Regions from separate parts of the Homo sapiens genome. Here region 1 is linked to region 2. The links are contacts of gene promoters, found by promoter capture Hi-C in human tissues and cell types (Jung and others, 2019). All regions are on one chromosome and are shown on one strand. The core of a region is centred on a gene start or on the middle of the fragment in contact, and the rest is flanking DNA. Distances in the headings are between cores, read along the strand shown. Region 1 has its middle 6.5 kb from the start of AHCYL1. Region 2 holds the start of PSMA5 (proteasome 20S subunit alpha 5).

Region 1 (7,150 bases), core at 1,667-4,166, 550 kb after region 2:
TTAGTTATTCATTTCTCTTGTTCCACTTTTTTAAAAAAACTATTTTTAAGTTTTTCCTAAGTATTAAATGTATGTAGTCCTAATGTGGAGGGATGTTTATGAAGTAGAGTGGGAAATAAATGATTAATAAGTATATTAAAATAGTTAAAACTCATGTGGTGCTTTTTATATGCCAGATACTGCTCTAAGAGCTTTACATGTATTAACTAATTTAATCCTGATAAATATCCTAATAAGGTGGGTATCATTGTTATCTTGATTTTATTAGGAAACTATCACAGGAGGGCTTGCCAAATAATATGGATAGTACCATATGTACAATTTTAAAATCCACATATGAAAATATGATGTGGAGGTGAGGTTCCCCCTCTCTACACCTGGAGTGTGGGAGTCAGTAGAGGGATAGAAAATTTTCCACTTTTGTTGCATGTACATCTGTTTGTTTAGATTTTTTTTACAATGAGTATGTTTTACTTTTGTAGGTTAAAAGATTATTTTAGGCCGGGCATGGTGCTGATGCCTGTAATCCCAACAGTTTGGGAGGCTGAGGCAGGAGGATTGCTTGAACCCAGGAGTTCAAGACCAGCCTGGGCAACATAGTGAGACCATATCTCTACTAAAAATAAAAAATTAGCTGGATGTGGTGGCACACACCTGTAGTCCCAGCTCCGCAGGAGGCTGAGGTGGGAGGATCAATTGAGCCTGGGAGCTTGAGGCTGCAGTGAGCTATGACTGTGCCTCTGCACTCCAGCCTGGGTGACAGAGCAAAACTGTCTCAGGAAAAAAAAAAATTAAATTAAAATTTAATTTGAATTATTCAGCAACATAAGGTAATACACACTCATTGCAGAATTTTTGAAAAAGGAAGCAAGCAAAAATGAGAAAATAAAAATGATCTGTAATCTCACCACATAGAGGAAATATGCATTTTGGTGTTTACCTTTCAGTTATTTTTTCTTTATATAAATATATAATTTCATGTTTACCAAAAAATTGGGTCACACCGTGATGCTGTTTTCAAAACTGCTTTCTTTCAGCTACCAATATTATCATGAACAACTTTCCATGTCATTAAATATCCTTCTGCCAGGCTACACAGTATGGCCTTCTATGACTGTACGGTATTTTTAGTCACTTACTGCTGAACTTTTCTTTTGCTGTTGTAAGTGTAACATAGCGATTAATTGAACATTTAGTGTGGCATAATAACATGATTGAGAAATCAGCCATATCTGGTTTTCTTGGCTGTGGACTCTTCAGAAAAGAATGTGAAGCATTTTCTCCACATCCTGCCAAGGGGGCAGCCAGGGCTTCAAGTCCAGGATGTCAAAGAGGTTGGAAGGTGGTTTTTCCATTGAAAAGCAGAGTAGCCTTACCTGTGGGCAGTGACTTCCAGCACCAGGAAAGAGGGTGGGAGATCACGAGTGTCCACAAGTGGCAGCAGTTGAGATCCAACTGGAACTCTTCCCTCCACCCTGGGGATGGCACAACCTGAGGTAGAGCTGGGGGTGAGGGGGCTTGAAGAAAGCCCACTAAGTAGCTTGCTGCTGGGAGAGACCACTGTGAGTGGGCAGCTCCCCAGCCTGCCTGGAGAAGCAGTACCCACAGACAGGGAGGACCTGCCTACAGTCTGAGGGGCAGCCATTAGCAGTGGCGAGCTCCACTGAATCCCAACCAGCTGCTCCAGTCCTGCAAGAACGAACTCTTTGTTTATTTGGGGGTTTTTGTTTTGTTTTATTTTTTGTAAAATCCAATGAGCCAAGAGAGGAAGCCCTAAAAATGATATTAGACTTTTCACCCACTGTGGATGGGATTTGGGACCAGATTTAAATAAATGTGGGAAAATAAAAAATACTGGCATGTCTTTCCCATCAAGTGTCGTGAAGCTATTCCTTCCTCATTAATACGCAAATATGCAACACCATGAGGAGCATTCATGTGTTCATCCATGATCACTGGTTGTTCATTTCATACTTCTCCTTGGACCCCTAAGGGATGGCAGAGTCTGTTGAGTCAGCCAACTCCACGGACGAAGCCTCCTGGATTAAGGGACCTGAACTGAGCCAAAACAGATAAGGGTGGGAGAACCTGGGTCCAGTCCTCGCTGTGTCACGAATGTGCTTTAGAGTCTGAGCAAGTTTCTCACCTTTCTGTTCCTAAATAGAGGATTAACAAATAGGCTGCTCTGTAAAGCTCTGGGAATCTGTGGGTCATTGGCACTTGGGAGCCCTCAGCCTGTAGGGAATCTAGACAGACTCACACATCCACAGAAACCGCAAGCAGCTCCACATTCTCCCATGTGCTCCAGTCAAACCAGATTGCTGGCCATGTTCCAGAGCATACCCTACATTTCACACCTCCATATTCTTGCTCTTGCTGTTCCCTCCATCTAAAGTCAGTGTTCCTCATGTCCGCCTCTTGAAATCCTAGTCATCCTTTAAGATTCAACAAAACCAACTCTCCTTCACAAGCCTGCCCCATTCCCTCTACGGGGAGCGTCTTTCTTTCTTCTTCCACGGGCATCTTCCGCCTCTGACTGCAGTCATCTGGACACATTTTGCAAGCTCCCTGAAGGCAAGGGCTGGGCCTCATTCATCTCTGCATCCGCCACGGGACCCAGCTCAGGATCCTGCAAGCTATGGAGCAGCCAAATGTTTGTGGAACTAAAATTGGGACCTGGGCCTAGGCTTGGATGAAGTTTCGGGCTATTTCAGGCCCTGGAATGGGTGGGGCGATGAAGGGAATGTTGGGGTTGGGAGATAAAAGACCCGAGCGGGAATGAGGCTTGGGCTTCACTGACTGGAACAGCCTCTCCATCCCCACCCCTTGATGTCTCCTCATCTAGCCCGAACAGAAACAGGGAAACACTGTGTACTTGCGACTCTCTTCCATCAGTCTCTTGAGCCCTTCCAGGCCCTCACATCACCCACTCCTTCCCTGAACCCCTATAAAGAGGTCAAAGGGCCAAGCGGGTCTGCAGGAAATGGCTGAAGGGCCTTTGTGGAGAGGCCAAGGTCCAAGCTCCTGGTTCTGGCATGAGATCCATCGTTGCCGTTGGTCTAAAATATTGTGTTGACCCTCCGTCAGGACTCTGTGGAAGTGTGGAAGTGGCATGAGCTCATGTTGGAGGCTGAAGAGCTCTGTCCTCACTGCTGCAGAATGGGACAAATGCTGAGGGTGTGGAGGACAAGGCTTAACTCTTTCCCCGGGGAAGAGGCCAGGCTTGCGTTGTGCATGTGGAGCCTTCAACCCTTAAAAGGCTGTCCAGGCAGAGCTCCTGGAATCGTGGAGGAGAAGGGAGGTTTTCAAGACCAGGGTTGAGAGGCATGAGGAGCAGCCTTGGGAATCCAGGTTGGTTGCAGGGAGGGCTTGAGAGGGTGAAATGGTTAATGGTTTGTTGAAAAACAGGGAGAGTCCCTCCTCCAGGGGCCCAGCTGGCTGCAAAGCCAGGAGCAGAGACTCCAAGGGTGATGCAATGGGGCCCGCCCTGCACACCAGAGAGGGTGAGGAAGGCAGGCTCCCACCCCGCAGCAGCCTCCGCACCACCAGCAGCCGACCACTCTCCTCTGGCTCCAGCAAACCAGCCACAGGCCGGGCCCTTCAGGGCAAAGGGGCAAGACCCTGAGCACCTGAGCTTTGGGAGATGGCAGCTTCTGTCTGTTCCACTCCATCAGCCCCAGAGCCTTTCCAGTCAAGACAAATCCTCTACTAGCCCCCAGCAGGCATCCTGAAGGAGTACCCACCAGGATATCAAACCATCCTGGCCACCTGTGTCTCTGCGATTCCAGGACTATTTCCAGTCCTAGAGGCAGGTTGCAGGTTATGGGTAGAGAGGCAGGCCTGGGAGAGGCAAAGACAGGCAGTGTCCTCCCTTATCCCAGAAGCTGACACTTACATCTCACCAGCCCACTCACCATTGCCCTGGGGGAGCACATCTGCCAGGGAAGCAGTATCCCAGAAGCTTCTAAAAGACTTGGGGCTACTTCAAGGGTGGGTCAGCATCTCTGAACTCGGGAGAGAGACTGCTCTTCCTTCCCTAGCATGGGGCTAGACACAGCCTCAGAAGCAGGGAGAGGAAGCATGCCACACACTCTGGAAGACCGCTCAGGGTGGGGCACATGGAGACAGCAAGGAGAGGGTGTGCCCTCTCAGACAGTACTGGGAACCTTGATTTTCTGACAAAGCTCTGCTATGGACTCTAAGCCCCATGAGGACAGGAACTGTGTCTGTCTTGTTTACTGTGGGATCCCTGGCGCTCAGCACAGCTCCCGAGACAAAGCTGATGCTCAGTAAATAACTGACTGGGCAGAGGCCAAAGTCCAAGGCCAGTTTCACAATTTCTACTTTTTTGGTAAACTCTTCACCATCCCCACCTCCATCCTCCCCGCTCCCATATACACACTTAAGAGCAGGAAAAAACATACAAAGTAGCACAAACAGTCATCAGAACAGATTTCTTGAACATTGTTTACAATTGGTGGATGCCTTCTCAGTATGAACTTTAATGTGTGGCAGCTTTGGGAACTGAAGTAAGATACATCAGGATCTCTGGTCCAACCTAGAAAAAAAGCATGTGAGGAAGTTCCAAGGGGCTGCTGGTCACACAGCCAGACCCCGGGGCCAGGTTGGGCCAGGAAAGCAGCAATTTCTCATGGCTGGGGCAGTGTCAGCCCTCCCTTTTGAGGAAACACATCCACATGTCAACAAGTACTCAAAACCAGCAATGACAATCCTTTCCTGCAGCAGACGGGTTTCTGCTTATTCCTGTCATTCCGGGAAGCGGAGCGAAGAGAGAATTCCAAATTCTCAACAATAGCTCCTTTGCCCTCCATGGTTAGCCTGGACCCACATCTTAGTACCTTACATTTGCACAATATTTGCAACTTGTTCAAAGCTTTTGCATATTTATGATCTTACTGGATTAGGTCATTACAAGCCCCAGATGGAGAGCTATCAACCTGTCTTGCATGAGGAAGAGGAGGTCAAAAAAGGTCCAGGATGCCAGTGGCCAAGTTAGTAGCAGAGTGAAGATTTGAGCCCACATCTCTGCCCAGTTTTCCTGCTTCCTCACACCATGCAGCCTCGCCATGAGTCAGCTATCACGAGTTCCAGACACAGGACCTCAGATCCTCTAGGGCCAAAAGGTGCCTCCTTATCCTGGTCCTTGTTTACAGTCATTATAACTGCCCCCACTACTTACATTTTTGCTCCCTTTCTCTGGCAGGAGCTGGTGCTGTGACCCATCTTCGCCTGTTTTGCTTGAAAGCCATCCCCACACCCACTCCGAAACCACCTCCCTCCATTCCATTATATTGCACTAGTTGGAAACAATTCAAATACCGAACAATAGGAAAACAGTTAAGCAAACTCATAAAGCAATATGACAGAAAGCTTGGAAAACATGGACAATAATAACAAGTATGTCAATGCTCTCCGTTCGGGTCATGTGTTTTTGAAATATTGTAATTTGATCAAAGCAGAATACAAAAGGACATGAACCTACCAATCACAGGTATGTAAAAATGAGTTTCTGCAAATTGCTAAGAACTAGGAGTGAACTTAACAAGATGAAAAGAAATTTTTAAAAAATCTTCATGGATTTTTCTTTCCTATAATGTTCAAAATGATAATAAAGAGTAAGTGATCCTAATAAATATGACAATAATAAGCAGAGGGGGAGACAGAGAAGGAGGAATGTTTTCCCACTGGAACTGGAGAAGGGGAAGGAGAAAAGGCTGAGGGTAGGGAGGGAGGGAGCTCGGTGGGAAGTAGGAGCCAGGAAGCCTGAGGACCAGCACCCACAGCCACAGAGGTGCAACCGGGAGCCCACCCTCTGGGGGTCCCTAAGGGCCAGCGAGGTAGGTGACCAATCTGAAGTGGTGCTCCAGGGCACCTTTCACAATAATTACAATGTCAGTGGTGCCTCCTAGAGCTGTGCAAGGTAGCAGTTCTGGGACAGAAAGAAGCCTGGAGCTGGAGGGTTTGCCCATGCTGGAGAGCTAGAGACAGAGCCACTGCCCTCTTCACCTTCTTCCGAACTTCCATTGTCACCCAAGATCTCTGCAGTTTTTCTGCACTTTCATTCCAGAGGGCTAACATAACACCTGGCCGACAGGAGGTGAAAGGCCTTCAGGAGGAGCACAGCCTCCCCCTGGTGGGGAGCCTGACTGGCAGGGAGCGGGCAGTTCCAAAAGGTGCCAACCTGGGCTCCCCTGAGACTCAGGGACAGTGCCCTCCACAGACATATCAAACTCAACATGTCCCAAGCTGACTCCTCTCAGCAGCCCCCCTCCACCCCTCTAGCCACACTTGCTTCTCCTCCTGTGCTCCCCAGCATGGCAGACATCACCACCACCCACCCAGGGCTTAACACGCCCTGCAGGATCTGGCCCTGGCTTCAGCGCTCACTTCACCCTGCTTTGCACCCTGTGCCCCACCCACATGGGGATATTTACAGTTCCCGTAATATGCCAAGCTGTTTCCATCACCATGCCTATTCTCAGGCTGTTTCTTCAGCCTGGAGAATCTTCCCTCCCTTGCCCAGCTGCTTATCTGTCAAGACTCAGCTCTGGCAGCATCTCCCTCTGTGTCATCCCTTTGCCCTCCACTGCACCCCACCCCCATCACCTGTCCCCACGTAGAGATCAGCACCTCAGCTTATTTATCTCTGTAGTCCCGACTGACATCTAGCCCTGCTGCTGGCACTTCTTCGGCACTCAATATATATTTTATAAATAAAAGAACAAATGACTGAATGTAGAACATCAATTTGGGGGTGGACAAACAGTGAATCTGATTAACAAGACCAAGCCCACGTGTGGTAGCCCAATGCCACTACATTTCTGGTGACAGCATCTCCCAATTCACCACTGCCCTTAGGCCACTCCTTTCTAGCAAGGGTCTTCGCTCCAGGCCCTTGGAGACTTCCCACCACCACACACAGCAGGTGCATCTGTCTTTGGGTCCCTGTTCTTCTCCAATTGCCCCGTGGGGGGTCTCTCACCTGTGTGTGGATGCGCTGTTCAGGGCAGTGAGCTTGCCAGTAGAGGTGCTGAGTCAGGTGGGTGGGTAGGCTGAAGACAAGTCATCTCTTGGCATTCATGAGAAGCAATCGCCTTAGCTGTGCCATGTGAGGCTATCTTAGGATGGG
Region 2 (7,117 bases), core at 1,169-3,668:
ACTTTTCCCAAAATGTATTGTGCTTTTCCATTGCCCCTCCTTCATTTATCCCATATTCTCCAACCCACAACTATTGATCTCACTGTCTTTATTAAATTCCTACTCTTTCAAGAAACCTAGTTTAAATGTCAGCTCCTTTGTGAAGTTTTCCATGATCGTCTCATATTGAATGCAATCCCTCATCAAAACTTCCATGGTATTGATTTGAATTTCTCTAATGGCATTAATATATTTCTGACTCACACTATAGTTACTTCTGTAAACAATTCTTTTTTTTTTTTGGAGACAAGGTCAGCGCCACCACACCCGGCTGATATTTTTTAATGTTTAGTAGAGATGAGGTCTCACTATGTTGCCCAGGCTGGTCTCCAACTCCTGAGCTCAGGCAATCCTGCCTCGGCCTTCCAAAGTGCTGGAATTACAGGCATGAGCCACTGTACCTGTAAACAATTCTTTAAGAGTCTCAGGCCGAGCGAGGTGGCTCTCGCCTGTAATCCCAGCACTTTGGGAGGCCAAGGCAGGTGGACCACGAGGTCAGGAGTTCAAGACCAGCCTGGCCAAGATGAGGAAACCCTGTCTCTACTAAAAACACAAAAATTAGCCGGGCGTGGTGGCACCGCCTGTAATCCCAGCTACTCAGGACGCTGAGTCAGAGAATTGCTTAAACCCAGGCGGCAGGCCAGGCGCGGTGGCTCACTCCTGTAATCCCAGCACTTTGGGAGGCCAAGGCAGGTGGATCACGAGGTCAAAAGATCGAGACCATCCTGGCCAACATGGTGAAACCCTGTCTCTACTAAAAATACAAAAATTAGCTGGGAGTGGTGGCGCGCGCCTGTAGTCCCAGCTACTCGGGAGGCTGAGGCAGGAGAATCGCTTGAACCCAGGAGGCGGAGGTTGCAGTGAGCCGAGATCATGCCACTGCACTGCAGCCTGGCGACAGAGCGAGACTCCGTCTCAAAAACAAACAAAACCCAGGAGGGGGAGGTTGCAGTGAGCCAAGATCACGTCACTGCACTCCAGCCTGGGCCACAGAGCGAGACTGTCTCAAAAGAGTCTCCTATATGCGAGCAAGGAGCTTGATTTTGTCCATTGCTGTAGCACCAGCACCTAGAACAGTGCCTTGTTCACAGCAAGCACTCAAGCACATTAACTAAGAGAATAAAAAGGGATGTATTTTAGGCCGTCTTGGGAAGACAGAAAAATAAGTAACAAAGCAGTCAATACATATGTTAAGTAAATGGCCACAAAATTTAATAAATGCCTTCTGATAAGCATAACAATTTCTATCATACACACCCTAACTCAAAATTATGTCACCCGAAGATGATTCTCTTCAATGTTCTGGAAGTTAAATATCGACCAACAAAGTCACTTTATAGGACAGTGGGGAAATATGTCAAAACTTCACACACATCTTCTACGAGTCAGTAAAAAAGATGAAAAAGTGGTAACTGCAGGTGGTAAAACTTCGACAGGATCAGCATATACTTGACAGGAAATGCAGCATCTCATACCACTCAGTACAAAGAAAATGTCTGCCTTCCCTGACTTTAAAAAAGAGTAGCTATGTAAAAACTTAACTGACGAAAACAGAAACTGAAAGTAAAAATGTCTACAGCATATATATGTACAACTTAATATTGTGAACATTTTCATACCACAAAAGTTTTTTAAAACTTGCTTTAAACTTTTAAAAAGTCAGAAAAAATTTTGGTCAATTGGAATCGGCATGATGAGAAATCTCTTGAAAACCATTCTAAATTCCAGTTCCTATAAAATCAGACTCCAGACAATATATCCAGCCAAAGCTACGACTGCCTTCGCGCTTCTGAAGAAACTATACACCGCAGCATGCCCTACTACAAACCAGTTGCTTTTTCTTCCAGGAAGCACGTTTAACTTTTTGTTTGTTTGTTCAAGGCAGTCATACTAGGCACGAAAAGATGAACGGAGCAAAGAGTGACCCTTGGCCTTCTCCGGGTTCAAGGTAGGAGTTCCGGCTCCTCACGCCTTCTTTACCAAGCACCAGCCGGAGCTTCTCGCTTCCGCACCGAGTTAGGACCCAGGGGTGACTCAGCGGTAGGACAAGTGCCGCCGATGTGGTCTAGCTTGGGGAAGGACGGCGGGCGCCTGAGGAGGGCATAACATCCCCAGGTCCGGCCAGTCTCGGGTTCCTGGGGAGCCCCATGACACGGCAGAACCCAGGCCGCGCGGCCAGGTCCCGGGCCTGCCCACCCATAATTCCCACCCGACGTCCCCCAGCTGCACGGACCTGTCGTACTCAGACCGGGTAAGAAACATGGCGAGGGTAGGAGGAGGCAGCGGCTACGCGGGGATTCTGAGGACCAACACGACTCCACCGGCACCCAACTCACCGGCAGCCAACTCACCCACACGGCCGCAGTACTAAGGACCAACTGCGCGTGCGACCGCGACCTCTTTAGCCCGCCCTCCTGTGCCTGCTTCCTATTGGCTGGTAGTAGTTCCCGCCTAGGTGATTGGGCCAACGCGCTTCCTCACGAGGGCTTGGTTGGTCCGGAGGAGGAGGAGGACCAGGGAGGTACTTCCGCCTTAAATCGCGGGTGGTTGCTAGGGACGATAGGCACCCAAGGCGTGTAGTGAGTTCGCCTTGTAGAGAAGATGTGAGCCCGCCCCAAGACTGGCAATTGGAAAGGCTTGCATGCAGAGCTGGGTTGTCTGAACCCTGACATAATAGGTCCCTCGCCGGCTCCCGTAATCCCAGCTAGAGGACTTTGGTCCCGTTTCCGGCAAGGCCACCACCTGACTTCTCTTCGCAGGATTCCCTCTCTTAGGGTTCCTCCACGGTGTTCTCCATGCCCGGTCGAGGGCTCCAGGACTTTGGGCGGTAATGAGTCGGCTACAGTGGGTCTGAGCCGGCGCCGCGGACGAGTCCCTTCGTTTCAGCCAGTTTGGCTCGTTTATTGAGAAAAGTGGGGGGCGAGGGGTTAGTATGTAAGAAAGTCTTAAAGTTTCCACATGGTTAAGGTAATTTTATCAACTCTTTCTTGCACCCCTCCCCCTAGTACAGGTTTCAGACCTAAATAACCTAGAGTTCAGGATCCAGACTTCAAAATATTCACTGCTTTTTCTGTTGTTTGTGAAAAATAAGTGTTTTCTTTGAGCCCAGATCGTGCTATTGCACTCCAGCCTGGGCAACAGCCAAACCCTATCCGAAAAAAAAAAAAAAAAAAAAAGCGCTTTCTTTTTCGACGCTTCTTGCTTCCCTTCAATAAGTTGCTTGAGGAGCAACTTTGCAGCTTCGTAATAACACTGTAATTCAAGTATTTGTTCAAGAAAGGCAAGTAAGAAGTCTTGGCACGGGGGTGGGGAATATAGGGAAATGTTGGTCAAATGATACAAAGTTTCAGTCAGAGAAGGTGGATGAGTTCTATAGTTAATAATCATATATTGTGTACTTGAAATTGTGAAGAGGGTACACCTTAAATGTTCTCACCACAGGAAAGTATGTGAGATGATGGATTATGTTGATTAGCTTCATTTAATTATTTGCAGTGTGTGTGTGTATATATATGTATATCAAAACGTCACGTTGTATACCATAAACATGAACAATTTCTATTTGTCACTTACACCTTAAAGCTGGAGTCGGGGGAAAGAAATCATTTATCAGGCAGTATATGCTGGAAAGGGAAATGCCAGCATCTCATTTCCAGTTGTTAATGTGATACCACTAGTCAAGTCCTTAACCTCTCAAGGCCTGTATCTCTCCAGTAAAGTTCATTCTTGGTCCTAGATTAGGTTTGTAAGTCACCAAGGCATTTCAAAGGTGCAGGAAATGTAAAAATAAGCCTTTTGAGTATTAACCAAGATTAGTTTTCCCCACCCTTTATTTTCTGACTTCCTTCATGGATTCAGTAGGAGTTTAGTTTGGTCATCCCTGGCCAATCAGATGTTTAGCACTAATAAAACTGAGGAAGAACTCCAAGTAGCAATCCTCTGGGATCTGTTAGATTTCTGAGAAAAGAATGGTAATTTTTAGCTTTCTTGTCAGCTTTCTGACAAGCTTTTTTTTTTTTTCACCTTATCAGTTATTTTCTATGGAAAAGTCTTGGTCGTAAATTCACTACAGCTGCTCTTTAGAAGTTCTTTTATGGCCAGGCACAGGGGCTCACGCCTGTAATCCCAGTACTTTGGGAGGCCGAGGTGGGTGGATCACGAGGTCAGGAGTTCAAGACCAGCCTGGCCAAGATGGTGAAACCCTGTCTCTACTAAAAATACAAAAATTAGCTGGGCGTGATGTTGGGTGCCTGTGATCCCAGCTACTCGGAAGGCTGAGGCAGAGAGTTGCTTGAACCTGGGAGGCAGAGGTTGCGGTGAGCCAAGATCTCACCACTGCACTCCAGCCTGAGCAACAGAGTGAGACTCCATCTCAAAAAAAAACCAAAAAAAACGGAGTTATTTTACTACGTAGGTACTTTAGCATAATATTTCCTGAGCACCCAGGGTTCCATGGTGCTCTGCAGACCCTATCAATGTCAGAGACAGTAGTGAATTGCTTACGAAATGTTCTTGAATGTAGAATCTCCTCTGGGTAAATGTGTTTGTGCTATATATAACATAAATGAAGGGGAGCTGCAGGTAATTGTGGATAGGAAGGAAAATCTTTTCTCCCAAGAGAGTGCATTGTAACAATCTAGCAGCTAGCATAATGTGTCTTTGAAAGAAATAAAATGAGAAATTAGCTATTTAAAAGTAATTGAAGTTAAAATGTGTGTACGTACAAAGGAATATTGTTCACCCTTTAAAAAGGAATGAAATTCTGATACATGCTACAACTTGGATTAGACTTGAAGACCTTATGCTAGGCGAAATCTCAAGACACAGAAAGACAAATATTGTATGATTCTACTTATGTTCGGTACCTAGAATAGTCAAATTCATAGAAACAGAAAGTAGAATAGTGATTATCTAGGGCTGGAGGAAAAGGGGAATGAGGAGTTAATGGGTTTAATGGGTACACCATTTCAGTTTGGGATGATAATGAAGTTCTGGAGATGGATTGTAGTGATGGTTGCACAACAGTGTGAATGTATTTAATGTCACTGAATTGTACACTTAAAAATGGTTAAAATGGTAAGTTTTATGTTAGGATATTTTACCACAACAGAAATAATTTTTTAAGTTAAAGGGGGGAAAAAGGAAAATAATGGAAATGTGAGTTCTTTGAGGGTCAGTACTCTCTTGTTCAGCCTAGCACCTGGCATATGCTCTAGATACATTTGTTTAGTAAATAAGTATTTATTTTTTTAACTTTTATTTTAAGTCCAGGGTGTATGTGCAGGATGTGCAGGTTTGTTATATAGGTAAACGTGTGCCATGGGGATCTGCTGTACACACCATTTCGTCACCCAGGTATCAAGCCTAGTATCCACCAGTCATTTCTCCTGATCCCCTCCCTCCTGCCACCCTCCGCCCTCCAGTAGGCCCCAGTATGTGTTGTTCCCCTCCGTGTGTCCATGTGTTCTCATCATTGAGCTCTCACTTGTAAGTGAGAACATGTGGTATTTGGTTTCTGTTCCTACATTAGTTTGCTAAGGATAATGGCCTCCAGATAAGGATTGATTGATTGATTGATTGCTATAGGCATACTAGTTCCATAGACATTAATATATGTGTGACTTGGAGAAGTAGAGTAAGTAGAAAATTCAGAATTTCAAATAGCCACTTTAAAATGTTTTTAAGTACTGTATTTCTTTAAATTTTTTAAATAAAATAGACAAAAGTTTGGTTGGCTACACCTTTTTAGGTGAAATATACTGAGAGATGCGGACTCTTCCTCATTGGAGAAATGTAAGTTATTTAGACATTAATAAAAGTTCTGCGTTCACCCATAGAGTGAGAGTTCTCAAATATTTTGGTACTATTTTGCACATTTTTGCAAAGAAAGGAAGATCATCCTTAATTGAAAGCTGCCATGATTATTTTACAGATGAAACAAACTGTATTGCAGTAAAGATACTTTTTCAACTATAGATTGGAAGCTGTGTCATTCTACTGGAAGTAAATGAAGTAGTTTGGTAAAGTTAATAGCCCGATAAATGTTGAAAATACTCACATTTGTTAGCAAACATCATATATGAGTACTTTGTGTCAGACATTCCTGGGTGAGGCAGAAAATATGTGGAGAATTTAAAAAGTGATTCCAAATAAATTTAGGTCCCTTTGCTCTTTCTAAATATTACATTCCCCAAATCCATTTATCCACATTTATCTCTAGTAACTACAATTTGTTTATGTAAAAAGACATTTTAGATTTGGCTGCTTCCCTGTGTGTCATTTTTTACTTCAATCACTTTGTAGAGTATTTTTAAATAACAAAGGTTTTTAACTCAAGGATATAGAGAGGTTTAGCTAGCTTTGATTCTTGCAAACCCCTGAAGAAATAGAAAATGAACAGTTCTGGCCAGTGACTTAGCATGGCAAGAGTACTAATGCAGGCCCATTGCTGCATAATCTGGGACTACTCTAATGGGAAACTTTGGCTTATAGACGCCCCCATCAGCCTAGCTGAAATTTTCTTAGAACTGCGCTGCAGTCTGAGACCCTGCCTGTGCAATCCTTTCTTTTCTCTCTCCTTCATAGGTGCCAGACTTATATCACAGTCTGGAGCATCTCCCACCTTCTCCTGCTCTCATCCCTTTTATCCTTCATAGATGTTTCTGCCAATTGATCTCTTACATGTTTTTATGGGCTAAATTGTGTCTTGCCCCAAATTCAGAAGTTAAAGCCTTAACCCCCAGTATCTCAGAATGTGACTGGAGCTAGGACCTTTAAGGAAGTGCTCAAGTTCAATGAGGCTGTTAGGGTGGGCCCTAATCCAGTCCTGACTGATGGTTTTATAAGAAGAGGGAATTTGGATACACAGACACCAGGGGCAGGTGCACACAAGAGAAACGGCCACGTGAAGACACAACAAGAAGGTGGCCATCTGCAAACCAAGGAGAGAGGTTCAGAAGAAGCCAGACCTTCTGACACGTTGATCTTGGACTACTAGCCTCCAGAAGTGTGAGGAAATACATTTCTATTGTTTAAGCCACTCAGTCTGTGGTATTTTGTTATGGCAGCCCTAGGAAAC

The links. Contacts are between HindIII fragments. The study calls those that stand out against the background at their distance.
Region 1: a contact is called between a fragment that was not itself captured here and the fragment with the promoter of PSMA5 in region 2, in 1 of the 25 tissues and cell types used here (bladder).

The regions. Positions count from the first base shown.
Region 1 is chr1:109,974,695-109,981,844 of GRCh38, forward strand. No RefSeq gene overlaps it. Among named protein-coding and RNA genes, the nearest start is that of AHCYL1, 6.5 kb to the right of the region's middle. The HindIII fragment of the contact is 4,452 bases long and covers 691-5,142 here.
Region 2 is chr1:109,424,030-109,431,146 of GRCh38, forward strand. It overlaps PSMA5 (proteasome 20S subunit alpha 5), which reads right to left and starts at 2,419. Exons shown (of 9, transcript NM_002790.4): 1 at 2,273-2,419. The coding sequence starts at 2,301. RefSeq lists enhancers at 2,482-3,413, 2,920-2,979. The HindIII fragment of the contact is 7,725 bases long and covers 1-5,767 here.